2 separate regions of the Homo sapiens genome follow, and region 2 is linked to region 1. The links are contacts of gene promoters, found by promoter capture Hi-C in human tissues and cell types (Jung and others, 2019). All regions are on one chromosome and are shown on one strand. The core of a region is centred on a gene start or on the middle of the fragment in contact, and the rest is flanking DNA. Distances in the headings are between cores, read along the strand shown.

Region 1 (5,068 bases), core at 2,377-4,876:
GTGTATGTGTCCAGGAATTTATCCATTTCTTCTAGATTTTCTAGTTTATTTGCATAGAAGTGTTTATTGTATTCTCTGACGGTCATTTGTATTTCTGTGGGATTGGTGGTGATAACCCTTTTATCATTTTTTATTGTGTCTATTTGAATCTTCTCTCTTTTCTTATTAGTCTTGCTAGTGGTCTATCAATTTTGTTGATCTCTTCAAAAAACCAGCTCCTGCATTCATTGATTTTTTGAAGGGTTTTTTGTGTCTCTATTTCCTTCAGTTCTGCTCTCATCTTAGTTATTTCCTGCCTTCTGCCAGCTAGCTTTTGAATGTGTTTGCTCTTGCTTCTCTAGTTCTTTTAATTGTGATGTTAAGGTGTCAATTTAGATCTTTCCTGCTTTCCCTTATGGGCACTTAGTGCTATAAATTTCCCTCTACACAATGCTTTAAATGTGTCCCAGAGATTCTGGTATGTTGTGTCTTTGTTCTCATTGGTTTCAAAGAACACCTTTATTTCTGCCTTCATTTCGTTATGTAGCCAGTAGTCATTCAGGAGCAGGTTGTTCAGTTTCCATGTAGTTGAGCGGTTTTGAGTGAGTTTCTTAATCCTGAGTTCTAGTTTGATTGCACTGTGGTCTGAGAGACAGTTTGTTATAATTTCTGTTCTTTTACGTTTGCTGAGGAGTGCTTTACTTCCAACTATGTGGTCAATTTTGGAATAAGTGCGGTGTGGTGCTGAGAAGAATGTATATTCTGTTGATTTGGGGTGGAGAGTTCTGTAGATGTCTATTAGGTCCCCTTGGTACAGAGCTGAGTTCAATTCCTGGATATCCTTGTTAACTGTCTCATTGATCTGTCTAATGTTGACAGTGGGGTGTTAAAGTCTCCCATTATTATTGTGTGGGAGTCTAAGTCTCTTTGTAGGTCTCTAAGGACTTGCTTTATGAATCTGGGTGCTCCTGTATTGGGTGCATATATATTTAGGATAGTTAGCTTTTCTTGTTGAATTGATCCCTTTACCATTATGCAATGGCCTTCTTTGTCTATTTTGATCTTTGTTGGTTTAAAGTCTGTTTTATCAGAGACTAAGATTGCAACCCCTGCCTTTTTTTGTTTTCCATTTGCTTGGTAGATCTTCCTCCATCCCTTTATTTTGAGCCTATGTGTGTCTCTGCACGTGAGATGGGTCTCCTGAATACAGCACACTGATGGGTCTTGAGTCTTTATCCAATTTGCCAGTCTGTGCCTTTTAATTGGAGCATTTAGCACATCTACATTTAATGTTAATATTGTTATGTGTGAATTTGATCCTGTCATTATGATGTTAGCTGGTTATTTTGCTCGTTAGTTGATGCAGTTTCTTCCTAGCATCGATGGTCTTTACAATTTGGCATGTTTTTGCAGTGGCTGGTACTGGTTGTTCCTTTCCATGTTTAGCACTTCCTTCAGGAGCTCTGGTAAGGCAGGCCTGGTGGTGACAAAATCTCTCAGCATTTGCTTGTCTGTAAAGGATTTTATTTCTCCTTCACTTATGAAGCTTATTTTGGGTGGATATGAAATTCTGGGTTGAAAATTCTTTTAAGAATGTTGAATATTGGCCCCCACTCTCTTCTGGCATATAGAGTTTATGCCGAGAGATCAGCTGTTAGTCTGATGGGCTTCCCTTTGTGGGTAACTCGCCCTTTCTCTCTGGCTGCCCTTAACATTTTTTCCTTCAACTTTGGTGAATCTGACAATTATGTGTCTCAGAGTTGCTCTTCTCGAGGAGTATCTTTGTGGCATTCTCTGTACTTCCTGAATTTGAATGTTGGCCGGCCTTGCTAGGTTGGGGAAGTTCCCCTGGATGATATCCTGAAGAGTGTTTTCCAACTTGGTTCCATTCTCCCTGTCACTTTCAGGTACACCAGTCAGATGCAGGTTTGGTCTTTTCACATAGTCCCGTATTTCTTGGAGGCTTTGTTCGTTTCTTTTTACTCTTTTTTCTCTAAACTTCTCTTCTCGCTTCATTCATTTGATCTTCAGTCACTGATACCCTTTCTTCCAGTTGATCAAATCAGCTACTGAAGCTTGTGCATGCATCACGTAGTTCTCGTGTCATGGTTTTCAGCTCCATCAGTTCATTTAAGGACTTCTCTTCACTGGTTTATTCTAGATAGCCATTCGTCTAATCTTTTTTCAAGGTTTTTAGCTTCTTTGCGATGGGTTCAAACATCCCCCTTTAGCTAGGAGAAGTTTGATCATCTGAAGCCTTCTTCTCTCAACTCGTCAAAGTCATTCTCCGTCCAGCTTTGTTCTGTTGCTGGCAAGGAGCTGCATTCCTTTGGAGGAGAAGAGGCACTCTGATTTTTAGAATTTTCAGCTTTTCTGTTCTGGTTTCTCCCCATCTTTGTGGTTTTATCTACCTGTGGTCTTTGATGATGATGACGTACAGATGGGGTTTTGGTGTGAATGTCCTTTCTGTTTGTTAGTTTTCCTTCTAACAGTCAGGACCCTTAGCTGCAGTTCTGTTGGAGTTTGCTGGAGGTCCACTCCAGACACTGTTTGCCTGGGTATCACCAGTGGAGGCTGCAGAACAGCAAATATTGCAGAACAGCAAATGTAGCTGCCTGATTGTTCCTCTGGAAGCTTCATCTCAGAGGGGCACCCGGCTATGTGAGGTGTCGGTTGGCCCCTACTAGGAGGTGCCTCCCAGTTAGGCTACTCAGGGGTCAGGGACCCACTTGAGGAGGCAGTCTGTCCGTTCTCAGATCTCAAACTCCATGCTGGGAGAACCACTACTCTCTTCAAAGCTGTCAGATACGGACATTTATGTCTGCAGAAGTTTCTGCTGCCTTTTGTTCGGCTATGCCCTGCCCCTACAGGTGGAGTCTACAGAGGCAGGCAGGCCTCCTTGAGCTGCGGTGGGCTCCACCTAGTTTGAGCTTCCTGGCTGCTTTACCTACTCAAGCCTCAGCAATGGCGGGCACCCTTCCCCAAGCTTCGCTGGCACCTTGTAGTTTGATCTCACACTGCTGTGCTAGCAATGAGTGAGGCCCCGTGGGCATGGGACCCTCTGAGCCATGCGCAGGATATAATCTCCTGGTGTGCTGTTTGCTAAGACCGTTGGAAAAGCACAGTATTAGGGTGGGAGTGACCCCATTTTCCAGGTGCCGTCTGTCACAGATTCCCTTGGCTAGGAAAGGGAATTCCCTGACCCTTTGTGCTTCCCGGGTGAGGCGATGCCTCGCCCTGCTTCGGCTCTTGCTTGGTGGGCTGCACCCACTGTCCTGCACCCACTGTCCGACAAGCCCCAGTGAGATGAACCCGGTACCTCAGTTGGAAATGCAGAAACCACCCGTCTTCTGCGCTGCCCACGCTGGAAGCTGTAGACTGGAGCTGCTCCTATTCGGCTATCTTGGAACCTAGGATTTCTATATACGTTTCTATATGTGTGTTGTCTGCAAATAAGTCTTACTTCCTTTCCAATCTGTATGCCTTTTTTTTTGCCTTATTGCAATTGCTAAGGCATTCAGTATAATTCTGAATAGAAGTGCCAAGAACAGACATTCTTGCTTTTTGTTTTTTGAGATGGGGTCTCACTATGTCACACAGGCTGGAGTGCAGTGGAGTGATCCTATGACCTCAGCCTCCTATGTAGCAGGGACTGCAGGTGTGTACCACCATGTCCAGCTTTTTTTTTTTCGTAGAGACGGGATGTCACTACAGACTGGTCTTGAACTCCTGGGCTCAAGTAATCCTCTTGCCTTGGTCTCCCAAAGTGGTGGGATGACCAGCGTGAGCCATTGTGCCTGGCCCTTGTTTTATTTCTTTTTAATTTTTATAAGTGCATAGTGTGTGTGTGTGTGTGTGTGTGTGTGTGTGTGTGTATAAATATAAAAAATATAATTATATATATAAAATTATATATAATTATATATAATATATAATATAATTATATATTATATAAAATTATATACAATATATAATTATATATTATATATTATATAAATTATATATATTATTATATAACATATAATTATATATTATATGAAATTATATAAAATTATATATTATATAAAATTATATATTATATAAAATTATATAATTATATATTATTATATATATTATATATTATATATTATATATAATTGTATATTATATATACAAATTATATATACAAATAATTATATATTAGATATTATATATAATAATTATATATATCTATGGGGTACATATTTTGAGACAGGAATATTTTGAGACATTGTATAATGTGTAATAATCACATCAGGGTAAATGGGTATCCATCACCTCAAGAATTCATTTCTTTGTTAAGAACATTCCAATTGGACTCCCTCAGTCATTCTGAAATGTATAATAAAATATTGCTTACTGTAGTCACCTTGTTGTGCTATCAAATACTAGATCTTATTCATTGTATCTAAAAATATTTTTGTACCCATTAACCATCCATTCTCTCCCAACCCCCTACTCCCCTTCCTAGCCTCTGGTAACCATCATTCTACTCACTATCACCATGAGTCTAATTTTTAGCTCTCACAAACAATGAGGACATGCAAAGTTTGTCTTTGTGTGCCTAACTTATTTCACTTAACAGAATGTCGTCCAGTTCTGGAAGGTTATTAATAATTATTGATTCTATTTCTTTATTGGATATAGGTCTACTTAAATTATCTACTCATACACTTTTTTTTTTGAGACAGAGCCTTGCTCTGTCACCCAGGCTGGAGCGCAGTGGTGAGATCTTGGCTCACTGCAACCTCCGCCTCCAGGGTTCAAATGATTCTCAGGCCTCAGCCTCCTGAGTAGCTGGGATTACAGGTGCCTGCCACCATGCCTGGCTAATTTTTGTATTTTTAGTAGAGACGGGGTTTTGCCATGTTGGCCAGGCTGGTCTCGAACTCCTGATCTCAGGTGATCTGCCCACTTTGGCCTCTCAAAGTGCTAGGATTACAGGCCACCATGCCTGACCCCTCTTTACTCTTCCCTCTCCTCCTGGTGCTGTGAGTTGTGCTGCCTGAAGTTGGGGAAGGGGTGACATAAGCTTTCCCTTGGCTGCCCCAGTTGGTGTCTCACTGGATCA
Region 2 (5,352 bases), core at 2,853-5,352, 48 kb before region 1:
CGCTTGAACCTGGGAGGTGGAGGCTGCGATGAGCCGAGATGTTGCTACTGTACTCCATCCTGGGTGACAGAGTGAGACCTTGTCTCAAAAATCAAAACAAAACAAAACAACAAAAAAACCCCACAAACTTCTACTTCAAGTCACTAGAATAAGAAGAACAAACTAAATCCAAAGCAAGCAGAAGAGGAAAAAATAACAAGCAGAAACCAATGAAATTAAAAACAGAAAAGCAACAGAGAAAATCAATGACACAAAAAGCTGATTCTTTGAAAAGACTGATAAAATTGACAAACCTCTTACAAGACTGATACAGAAAAAAGAAGACATAAATCACCAGTATCAGTAATGAAACGGGTGACATCAGTACAGACCCTGCCCACATCAGAAGGATCATAAGAGAATAATTCCACGGACAACTTTACATACATATGTGGGGGTGTGTGCTGCAGACCTCAACTCAACGACAGATGAATAATGTACACTGACACAGATATTCTGCTTGTCAGTCAGGCCGATTGTCCAGGCCCCCTACAGACTCCCAGGAGAGTGCTGTACATTTGCAACGTGGCCCCGACTCCCCGCCTCCTACTCGCTGGCCTTCTCGTCATTTACTTAGCACACATTAAACACAGCAAAAGTCTCAAGTAAACACCATTAGAGGGTAATCAACCTGGTCGCCTTCCCCTGCCTCCCCCAGAGCGCCATCCTGCCCGCGAATGATTAAAGGTTACTTTTAGAACCACATGAGTAAACAAGCTATTTAGATAGACTCCTCTACATTCCTATGTTACTTACCCTTGCTATGGCTCAAAGAGGATTAGGCCGCTTTCAGCCAAACTATCTGAAGCTAAGCAAAAACCTTTTGGCCTTCCAAGTTTTGTGTTTTATTGTATAATTTTCCCCACCATCCTGACTGAACCTCTACATACATAAATGTAACAATTTAGGCAAAATAGATCAATTACTCAAAAAGCACACACTATCACAACTTACTAGTATGAAATAGATACTTTGAATAGCCCTATAGCTATTAAGGAAATTTAATTCATAATTAAAACACTCCCCAAAAGGAAATTTCAAGGCCCAGATGATTACACTGGAGCATTCTACCACACTTTTGTTTTTTTTTTTGAGATGGAGTTTCACTCTTGTTGCCCAGGCTAGAATGCAAAGGTGCCTTCTCAGCTCACCAAACCTCTGCTTCCCAGGTTCAAGTAATTCTCCTGCCTCAGCCTCCCGAGGAGCTGGGATTACAGGCATGTGCCACCACACAGGCTAATTTTGTATTTTTAGTAGAAACAGGGTTTCTCCATGTTGGTGAGGCAGGTCTCGATCTCCTGACCTTGTGATCCTCCCGCCTCGGTCTCCCAAAGTGCTGGGATTACAAGCGTGAGCCACCGTGCCCGGCCAAAGTTGACTGTTTTTAACTGTACACTTCAGTGGGATTAAGTACATTATATTGCCATAGAACTCTCACCACCATCCATCTACAGAACTCTTTTTATCTTGGAAAACTGAAACTCTATACCTATTAAACAATAACTTCACTCTCCCTGTCCTCCAGTCCCTGGCAACCACCATTCTGCTTTCTGTCTCTGTGATTTTGACGACTCTAGTACCTCATATACATGGAATTACCCAGTATTTATCATTTTATGTCTGGCTTAGTCCACTTAGCGTAATGTTTCTTCAAGATTCATCTATGTTGTAGCATGTGTCAGAATTCCCATCCTTTCTAAGGCTGAAAGGATTTCCATTGTGTGGATGTACCATATTTTGCTTATCTATTCATCTACTGATGAAGAACTGGGTTGCTTCCATTTTTTTTTTTGCTTGTGAATAATGCTGCTGTGAACATATGTGTACAAATATCTCTTTGAGACCCTACTTTTAATTATTTTGAGGATATCTCTAGATATGGACTTGCTGAATCATATGGTAATTCTATTTTTATTTATTTATTTTGAGACAGTGTCTTGCTTTGTCACCCAGGCTGGAGTGCAGTGGCATGATCACAGCTCACTGTAGCCTTGACCTCCCAGGCTCAAGCAATCCTCTTGCCTCAGCCTCCTGAGTAGCTGGGACTACAGGCGCATGCCACCAGATCCAGTTAATTTTTGTATTTTTTGTAGAGATGGGGTTTCGTCATGTTGCCCCGACTGGTCTCGAACTCCTGGGCTCAAGCAATCCTCCTGCTTCTGCCTCCCAAAGCGCTGGAATTATAGGCGTAAGCCACCATGCCCAGCCTATTTTCACTTTTTTGAGGAATCATTATACGGTTTTCCACAGTGTCTGTACCATTTTACATTCCCACCAACAGTGCACAAGGGTTCAATTTCCCCACATCCTTGCCAATGCTTGTAGTTTCTTTCTTTTCCTTTTTTTTTTTCTAGTGGCCATCTTAATGGGTATATGACGTAGTATCTCATTGTTCTTTATCTCATTGTGATTTGTGTTTCTCTAATGATTAGTGATGTTGAGTATCTTTTCATGTGCTCACTGGCCACTTGTTGATCACTGGAGAAATGTCTATTCAAGCCCTTTGTTGTGGTTTTTGAATGAGATTGTTCTTATTTTGTTGCTGAGTTTTAGGAGTCTCTGCATATTCTGGATATTAATCCTTTGTCAGATATATGATTTGCAAATATTTTCTTCCATTCTGTGGGTTGCCTCTTTACTCTGCTACAGAGTCTTTTGATGCACAAAATGTTTTAATTTTCATAAAGTCCAATTTGTCTATTTTTTCTTTTGTTGCCTGTGCCTTTAGTGTCATATCCAGGAAGTCTGTTGCCAAATCCGATGTGGTAAACCCTTTGCCATATGTTTTCTATGAGTTTTATGCTTTGGGATTTTAAAAGTTGTGGGTCTTTTTGGGTGAATTTTTATCTATGGTGTTAGAGAAGGAACCACCTTCACTTTTTTGCATGTGGATATCCAGTTTTCCCAGCACCATTTGTTAGAAAGACTGTCCCTCCTCCCCGCATTGAATGGGCTTGGTCTCCTTGTTAAAAATTATTTGACCATATATGGGAGGGCATATCTTGGGGCTCTCTATTGTATTCCATTGGTCTATATGTCTGTCTATATGCCAGTACCACACTGTCTTGATGACTGAAGCTTGGAAGTAAGTTTTGAAATCAGGAAGTGTGAGTTCTTCAGCTTTATTCTTATTTTTCAGGATTGTTTTGGCTAATCGAAATCCCTTGAGAGTATATGAATTGTAGAATGAGTTTCTCTGTTTCTACAAAAAATGTCATTGGGATTTTGACAGGAATTGCATTAAATCTGTAGATTGCTTTGGATAGTATTGACATCTTAACTATATTAAGTAAGGATGATTTTTTTTAAATTACTGATTCAATCTCCTCACTAGTTATAGGTTTATTCAGATTATATTATCTATTCTGAGTCAGTTTTGCATTTCTATGAATTTGTCCATTTCATCTACGTTATCCAATTTGTTGGCTTATATTTGCTCATAGTACTCTCTTATGATCCTTTCTATTTCTGTAGAATTGCTAGTAACGAGCCATTGCAGTTGGGATCTGGCAGCAGAGGCTGTGTGTGTGTTTGTGTGTGTGTGTGATCGGAGAAATGCTTGAGAGGGTAACACCCGATTTAGGAGTGGACAGGGTATGAGGACAAAGAAGTGGTAATGGGAGACCTTGCCTTTTATTTCTTTTAATCTTTTTTGATAATACATTTGTGCATTATTTGGTCGTTCTCTTTAAATTCATTTTTAAAGGTAGAAGCAAATCAAGACTGGTAGATGCTGTGCCAAGGAAAGTCAGGGATCCTAGGTTCGAATCCTGTCTCTGTTCGCAATTCGCTCCGCAACCTCAAACAAACGACCTCAGTTTCATCTATGAAAAGCTGGTAACCATCGTCAGTTGCCAGGCCATGAAGAGAGTCAACGGAAATAAGTTTTTATTCTAGGGCACCCGCTCTCTCTCAGGTAAAAGCCGCGCCCCAATCAGGTACTGCCGCGCCAGGGCCGCGGGACATCTCGGGATTTGTGGTCCACCCGGCGGAACTCGCGGTCCCGGCAGGCACCGCGGCGGCGGCAGGGCGACGTGGCGCGGCCGGCTGCGGCTGCGCAGGCAGGTGGAGCAAGATGGCTGTGGAGCTGGGCGTGCTGCTCGTCCGGCCCCGGCCCGGAACCGGGCTGGGTAGAGTGATGCGGACCCTCCTGCTGGTGCTGTGGCTGGCGACGCGCGGAAGCGCGCTCTACTTTCACATCGGAGAGACGGAGAAGAAGTGCTTTATTGAGGAGATCCCGGACGAGACCATGGTCATAGGTGCGGGGGCGGGGAGGAAGGGGCGAGTTTGGAACGTGACCGTGGTCTTGGGGCGGGGGATGCGAGACAGTCAGCTCTCTAGAGCCGGGAGGAGACGGCCTCGCCGTGCCCAGGCGGTCGCGGAACCCATGCCACCTCGCGCTCCTCTGACCTGGGCTCGCCCTGCTTCCCTCAAGGAAACTACCGGACGCAGCTGTATGACAAGCAGCGGGAGGAGTACCAGCCGGCCACCCCGGGGCTTGGCATGTTTGTGGAGGTGAAGGACCCAGAGGACAAGGTGAGCCAACCGCCCCCCTCCTCTCCGCCAGCCTCTCAGCTAGGCGGGCTCCGGTACTTCCTCTTCTAGTTCCTGCATCTGCTAAAGTGGGAGAGACAGTTGATGTTGTGGGAATATCCTGCTGACTTGCAGACCCCGCCCGGTCTGTGAAATGGGCGGATTAATTGTGGTGATAAAAATCAAAGAGTTTTGTCAACTCTTAAAGTCATCTAGACTTTAAGATTTCACAGAACATGATACTTTCCCCACAAAATGAGCAGCTTTTAATCTTCCCAAGTAAGGATATTAAAACGAACGGCAAAACCCTTCAGCTCTCACCTTCTGTCACTTTTCGTTAAAAAACTCATGGCGGGGTGTGGTGGCTCTTGCCTGTAATCCCAGCACTTTGGGATGCCGAGGCGGGTGGATCACTTGAGGCCGGGAGTTCAGGACCGGCCTGGGCAACCTCCGTCTGGCAAACCCCGTCTCTAGTAAAAATACAAAAAAAAAAAAAAAAAAAAATGAGCCGGGTGTGGTGGCGCACACCTCTAATACCAGATACTTGGGAGGCTAAGGCACGATAATTGCTTGAACCTGGGAAGCTGAGGCTGCAGTGAGCTGAGATAGCATCACTGCACTCCAGCCAGGACGACAGAGTGAGACTCTGTCTCAAAAACAAAAACAAAAAAGAACCCCCCAAAAAACAACTCACACCAAAAAAGTTGAAAGGGCATAAGCTATAAAGGAAAGCCCTTCCCAAGAGCAGTCAGTCACTTGCCACCCTAATGTCAGACTCTC

Evidence for each region. Contacts are between HindIII fragments. The study calls those that stand out against the background at their distance.
Region 2: a contact is called between the fragment with the promoter of TMED9 here and a fragment that was not itself captured in region 1, in 2 of the 25 tissues and cell types used here (bladder and spleen).

What each region holds. Positions count from the first base shown.
Region 1 is chr5:177,636,290-177,641,357 of GRCh38, forward strand. It overlaps the pseudogene SIMC1P1. Among named protein-coding and RNA genes, the nearest start is that of B4GALT7, 39 kb to the left of the region's middle. The HindIII fragment of the contact is 3,674 bases long and covers 1,790-5,068 here.
Region 2 is chr5:177,588,101-177,593,452 of GRCh38, forward strand. It overlaps TMED9 (transmembrane p24 trafficking protein 9), which reads left to right and starts at 4,103. Exons shown (of 5, transcript NM_017510.6): 1 at 4,103-4,298; 2 at 4,475-4,575. The coding sequence starts at 4,115. RefSeq lists an enhancer at 5,308-5,352. The HindIII fragment of the contact is 6,732 bases long and covers 1-5,352 here.